Regions from separate parts of the Homo sapiens genome. Here region 1 is linked to region 2. Evidence: promoter capture Hi-C in 16 types of primary human blood cells and fetal thymus (Javierre and others, 2016). All regions are on one chromosome and are shown on one strand. Each heading gives the region's core, a stretch centred on a gene start or on the middle of the fragment in contact. The rest is flanking DNA. Distances are from core to core; before and after follow the strand shown. Region 1 has its middle 4.3 kb from the start of DMBX1. Region 2 holds the start of KNCN (kinocilin).

What was found. Contacts are between HindIII fragments. The CHiCAGO score rates a contact against its expected background, and 5 or more counts as called.
Region 1: a fragment that was not itself captured here is called in contact with the fragment with the promoter of KNCN in region 2 in 1 of 17 cell types (M1 macrophages); the score reaches 6.1 in M1 macrophages.

What each region holds. Positions count from the first base shown.
Region 1 is chr1:46,483,945-46,487,190 of GRCh38, reverse strand. No RefSeq gene overlaps it. Among named protein-coding and RNA genes, the nearest start is that of DMBX1, 4.3 kb to the left of the region's middle. RefSeq lists an enhancer at 1,143-1,690. The HindIII fragment of the contact is 3,415 bases long and covers 251-3,246 here.
Region 2 is chr1:46,550,369-46,553,408 of GRCh38, reverse strand. It overlaps KNCN (kinocilin), which reads left to right and starts at 1,762. Exons shown (of 4, transcript NM_001322255.2): 1 at 1,762-2,344. The coding sequence starts at 2,194. All of the region lies in intron 3 of MKNK1-AS1 (MKNK1 antisense RNA 1), which reads right to left. RefSeq lists an enhancer at 3,000-3,040. The HindIII fragment of the contact is 11,434 bases long and covers 1-3,040 here.

The DNA of each region.
Region 1 (3,246 bases), core at 709-3,208, 66 kb after region 2:
AGGGGGACACCATGGACAGAAAGAGCTGCGGTCACTCACTCACTTCCTACCCCCACACACTTTCACAGACATTGCAGCCCAAGGGCTGCATTCACGGCTGGTTGTAGATTTCTGGGTGTGGGGACAAAGTTTGAGGGAAAAACAAAAATCCCTAGCAAGCTCTCTTGCTGAGATGGAAAGTCCGGAGGGAAACAGGACCAAACAGGGAAAGGGAACACGTCCTTTAGGGAGGCCTGAGTGATGGGAAGCTTGATGTGCCACAATGTGGGTGGGTTTTAGTGATTTCACAAAGCCATTTTGAAAGTGCCACCGTCTAGACAGGAATCAATAAGTGGAAATAGTTCAGGGCCTTCCTCCTGGAGTCTCCCCACCTGCCTGCCCAGGGCTGTTGCTGACGCCTTCAAAGGGCTTAAAAGAAAGGCATCCCCTGAGGAACTGGGGACCTGTCCCCAGTAGACTTTCCTGGGCTGCTGGGACTAGGAGTGCAGGCAGTGGTGCATTTCTGGATGTGGTTTTATATTTGTTCGAATTCATTTTCCTGTGCTATGAGTATATGAATACATTTAAGTATATACTCCTATATTTGTGTGTAATATATGCGTATACACGTTTACATGTGAATGTAGACTGTGCTTATGTGGATTGTGTGAGTTTGTAAATTCCTAGGTGTGCGTGTGGTGTGTGTGTGTTTTGGGGGGAGATGTTTCTAAGTTGGACCAAGGGGGAGGTGGGTAAGGGGTGAGTTAATTTAGGAACTTGGGAAAACTAGGTGCTCACCGTTTCCAACTGGTCTGGAAATGCAAAGAACGCAGGGTCCCAGCTGTCTGCCCGGAACCACTTTAGGGGCCTAGGTCCCCTTGAAGTCCCAGGGCAGGCCCCAGCCCCACCATCGCTGGTCTCTGAGCTCAGTTTAGAGTAGCAATGTCAAACCCAACCACCCTACTCACACCCCAACTCTGTCTGTCTGTCTGTCTGTCTGTCTGTCTGTCTGTCTGTCTGTCTGTCCCTCTCTCTCTGTTTCTCCTTAGCTTCCCCCTCCACCCCCACGAAGGCTCCCTAGCAGCTCACAGCGAGGGTTTGGGGCGGGTGAGAGGGGTTGGCGAATGCCCCATGCGGCCGCCCTCTCAACCTCCAGGCGGGCAGGGGATGTCCTCGAAGAGCGGGAACACCTGGCTGTGCGGCTTGAGGGCCGGGGCCCCTCCCCGCCCCTTCCGGGCGGCCCACTGCCCTCTGCGTTCAGAGGAGGCTAGGTCCAGGTTCGGGTGGGGGACGCGGGTCTCAGTCCCCATCCTGGGCCCGCTCCCGCCCCAACGGCTGGCGCTCCCCGGGGCAGTGGCTGGGTGGTGGGCGGCTTAGACCTAATTCCGGAGTTAATGGCGGCGGCCGGGCCCCCCGCGGCCCCCTCCACCTCCCACCCCTACCCGGGGGCCCGGCCGCGGGCCGCCCGCATCTGCGCCGTCCGCAGCGATTCATCATCTTGATCCATGGCGCGCGCTGACGGCGGCCCCGGCCGCGCTGACAAGACTAACAAAGCAATTTGCCACGAGCCATCTCCTGGACAGGTTATTAGCGCGGCCGCCGCTTAAAGAGCCCTCCCCACTCCCACCCCCACCCCCAATCCCAGCGCAAGGCAGCTACCGCTCTGTCCCCGCCCTCCGACGGCTACTCCCCTTCACCGCTCAGAGATACCCCCGCTTGTTCCTGACCCTCTCCGACCACCCAAAAGTCACCCCCGCCCCCACCACACACACACACCCTGTTAGTTGCATGCACGTTCCTTCCTTCCCTTACTCCAGCCGCTACCTGCTCCACTCCCACCCTCCAACCCCGGTTCTTCAAATACCGCACGTGCTCCCAGCCTTTCCCCCAATACTCCCAGCCTTTCCCCCAATGCTACCTGACCCATCTCCTTCTCACCTCGAGAACTTGCTGACACCCAGAGGACCTCCTCATTTCTGCCCTCTCCACCCTCCTCCCGCCAGCCACCCCCAGCAGAGATTGGAAAACCCTATTTATTCGCAGCTTTGGAGTGGGGGGTCTCCTGTAGTGCCTTTGAGCATGCTGAGTTTCTTCTGACCACTCTTGCCCACAAGTAACTGTACTGTGAAGGGCAGGTAAGGTGGCCTTCAACTCCACTCACCCCGTGCCAGCTAGGGGGCAATGGCTCAGGCGCTCCTGAGCATAGTTCCAGCCCCCCAACCCACGTCTAGGCAGGCTGACTGCAGGAAGGCCAAGGCCTGGGCTTCCTCTCCGGTTGCACTTGCTCTGGGAAGTAAAGGAGACCAAGAGATAAGGAGTTCCCACTAAGCAATGCTCCTCCCACCTGGAGAGGCAGATGTGTAAGAGGGCTTTTGGCTGGATCTGGATCTCTCTCTCTCTCTCTCTTTTTTTGAGATGGAGTCTCACTCTGTCACCCAGGCTGGAGCTCAATGGCACGATCTTGGCTCACTGCAACCTCCATCTCCCGGGATCAAGTGATTCTCCCTCCTCAGCCTCCTGAGTAGCTGGGATTACAGGCGTCTGCCACCACGCCCAGCTAATTTATTTTTGTATTTTTAGTAGAGATGGGGTTTCACCATACTGGCCAAGCTGGTCTTGAACTCATGACCTCAAGTGATCCACCCGCCTCAGCCTCCCAAAGTGCTGGGATTACAGGCATGAGCCACCGTGCCCGGCCTGAATCTGTATATGTAATATGAGTATGGTACACGTTCTCATCCCCAAAGGCAGAGTGACTATTTGATGGTCCCAGACAGAAGTCAATTTTTTGAAGGAATTCTCTGGGTAGAGAGGATGTGGCCTGGTGCTTTAGATGTACTACACAGGTCTGTGTGAAGGGACTGGATGTGCACCCCTTCACTTGGGGAACACGCAAGTGTGTGTCTGACTGCATAAAGCCAAGTGTCATACGTTTGTGTACATTCACACATGGTAGGGGGGTCAAGTGTGTCCCCCTACATACATGTGCCGAGAGATTGCCTTATGTTTGTGTGCACTGAGGACTAAGTGTGCCCCTTGTGTGTACAAGGAGGCCTGGGAAAGGCCTGAGTGTGGCACATGTGTGAACATGCCTGTGTACACCTGGGGTAACTGGCCTTCAAACCAGGAAAGAGCCCCCACCTCCTTGTTCACTCTTCTCTCAAATCCAGCCTCAGCATTCCCAAACTGTCAGCCCCCACAGAGTGCTGGGGAGAGGCATGGCCCTCTGAGAACCTGGGAGGAGCTCCTGAGGGGTCCAGACAGAGG
Region 2 (3,040 bases), core at 513-3,012:
GCCCGAGCCCCATAGTGCGAGGTGGAAAACGCGGCCCCAAGAGCTTCTATCTTGGTGAGGGTGTGAGAGAGTCGCCCTCAGCCTTAGACTTTGAGAGGAGCAAGGAACACGTTTCATGGACAATTATTTTGGTGGCTCCTTCTAAAACTAAGTCAGTGGGGGATCAATTATGTGTGACAGAGACATGGGCTATGATTTGATGCCTAATTAGAGGAATAATCAGATCTCATCCAGGCAGGAGGCACAGCAGATGCTGGCAGCAGCACCGTGGCTGGGGAATGCCCAGCTCCAGGGGTGTTCCCTCTGTGGGGAACAGGAACACAGTCCAGGGCCCATCTGTGTGCTGCAGTCACCCCTCTCTACAGACTCATCATGAGCCGAAGCTCCAACTCAGGTGACCCTGGGCCTTCTCAGGCCCCCTTCTCCACATACAAGGAATGCCTCTTGTTAGAGACAGAGGTTCCCTTGTGTCCACAGCCCTCCTCTTTGATGACTGGAGGTGGTTGTGCAGTCCAAGCCCTCTCCCTGAACTCTGTCCTCATGTTCAGAAGCCTAGCTCAGGTCCCTCCCAGCCACAGCATTCTGGGGAGCTCACTCCTGGAACCTGCCCTCAAGGGGCTCTCAGCCTACAGAGGAGATAGAACAAGAACAGGGCAGCCATGGAGGCAGGTGGAGGAACAAGAAGTTGAGCCTGGCAATATGAGACTGCAGATGCAGTGCAGAGAGGGGGCATCCAAAGAGAGGCCAGGGAGGCTGGCGACGGGACTCCGAGCAGGATTATGGGACCCTAGGAATTGTGCCCAGGTGCAGGGCCAGGCCGGGGCCATATTCTGAGACTGGGGGGTCCCCAATCCATAAAGGGCCAAATAACGCAATGAATGATAAAGGCTGGAACTGGGGGCCGGGGCAGGGCTCAGGGCTAGGCTGCATTGGTGACCACTGCCCAGCCTTGGGGTGGGGCATCCTGCAAGTAACTCAGACAGGCTGGGTGCAGGTGCTCAGTTCAGCGGATGGGAAGGCACCAACCATGACCCAGCCTCCCACTCCCGGCACCTAGCCCCTACCAAGTCCTCTTCTCTACCCTACCCCTTAGGTGTTTTCCTCCTGCCCACACCAGCACCACCACTGCTCTTCCCTTTCACTCCCAGTCGGGATCCCCAAGGTGGCTAGAAGGGTTCACTCTCCATTCCACTGGCCACTAAAAGGGGGGTGGGTACCAAGCCCACCTGAGGACAAGGGAGTCCCCTGAGATCAAGCCTCAAACTAGGACGCCCTCAGCCCTACCTGGGAGCCCAGAGGTGGACAGGATGGGGATGGGATGGGCAGGGGTAGGGAGCAGACTTGGAGGGATGCCTCTCCCTGTCCGCTTTCCATACCAGGTGCAGTTCCTGTCTCTTGAGCCTCCTGCTGTGTGTCTATCTCAGACTCCAAGCAGAGACCCCAGGTGCACCTCCAGGCCAAAGGGCAGAGCACATTACAGCGGGCCCTGAGCATGTGATCAGGAGTCTCCTCACATCCCTGGCTTCTGAACGACATGCAAAGCCACCAGCTCGTTCTTCCTCCTCAGGAACCAGCAGTGGAACCTGGGCTGACTGCCCGCTGGGCCCTGGGACCCAGACAGCCACTCACATTGCAACCTCATGAATAACTCAGCACCTCCCTGCTGCCTACATCTCTGAGGAGCCTGTGGCCGCTGGACCAACTCCCCCCTCACCCTGCCTCTCATTGCTTTAAATTTTCATAGGCTGAGGTTCAGTGGCAAGTAAGTGGCTCTAGGAAGCTGGGGCAGGATGTCCTGGGCAGGGGAGCTTGAACTCTCCTGGGTGGAGGCTGGCAGGGAAGGATCCTATGGAACAGGCCCAGCTCCCTAGAACTCTGGCAGCCAAAGCAGAAATGTAGCCAGACAGGAGTCCCAAGGGTGGGCTTCAGCTTCAGAGGGCTTTGAGAGAGGAAGAGTAAGCTGGGTGACCTCGTACAGATCCCTGGTCAAGGTGGGACTGGGGGGCCCGTAGTGGAGCAGTGGAATAGGACTGCAGATAAATCCCAGGGTTCCCCACCTATCATCTTACTGCCCAGAAACTCCTACCCTGAAGTTGGAGCGCCAACAAGGAGACATCCAAGAGCCCAGAAACTTCCAGGACTTTTCTGGGGCCAGACTGCACCGGCTGGAGGCAGTGCCCCGGGTGGGCCTGCATGGACATCCCCATCAGCAGCAGAGACTTCCGCGGCCTGCAGCTGGCCTGCGTGGCTCTCGGGCTGGTGGCTGGCAGCATCATTATCGGCATCTCCGTATCCAAGGCTGCAGCTGCCATGGGCGGTGTCTTTATTGGCGCTGCTGTTCTGGGTGAGCAGGGGCTGGGCTGGGATAGGGAAGGGAGATTCTGGAGGTGGGGGCAGGGGCATCGTCAGGTGAACAAGGAACAGGGAAGGGCTGGGTCAGCAGGAATCAGCTGGGGAGAACGGAAGCTAGAGGTGTGAGCAAGGCCGCCATCAGGGGCACAGGCGGGAGAGGAGCGACGCGCTGGGGCTCCTTCCAGCCACAGGGAGGAGAAAAGAAGGAGAGCTGGCCGTCACACTCTTTTCTGGCTACTCCCACTGGCTCTCCAGCCCCAAGCTCTAGGCTCCTGGATTTGTGGTGGGATTCATCAGCCTATCTGGGCGGAACAGGGGGTTGATGGCGGCAGGTAAAAGGACAGAGCTCCTGAGGACTCTCTGAGCCAAGACAGGCTCCAGCTCAGAAAAAGGGTTTCGTCTTCTTTCCCTGTTTGCCTCCACAGCAGCTGTGTCCATCTATCTGTGTGGGGCCACGCCCACTGATTGCCCCGCAGTGACGCTGAATGCCATCCCTCACCTCACCTCACCTCACCCCACCCCCCGCCCCCGCCCAGGCCAAAGGCAGGACCAGAAGCATCAGGCTAGGGGGCTTTAGGTATCTACACCTGCGGGTTCTGGCACAGATGCTCATCGGGGGATGGAGCGGGGGCGGGCAAGGCAGGACTGGCTCCACTGCTCCTGCTCCCCAGGTCTGGGTGGGGAGGAA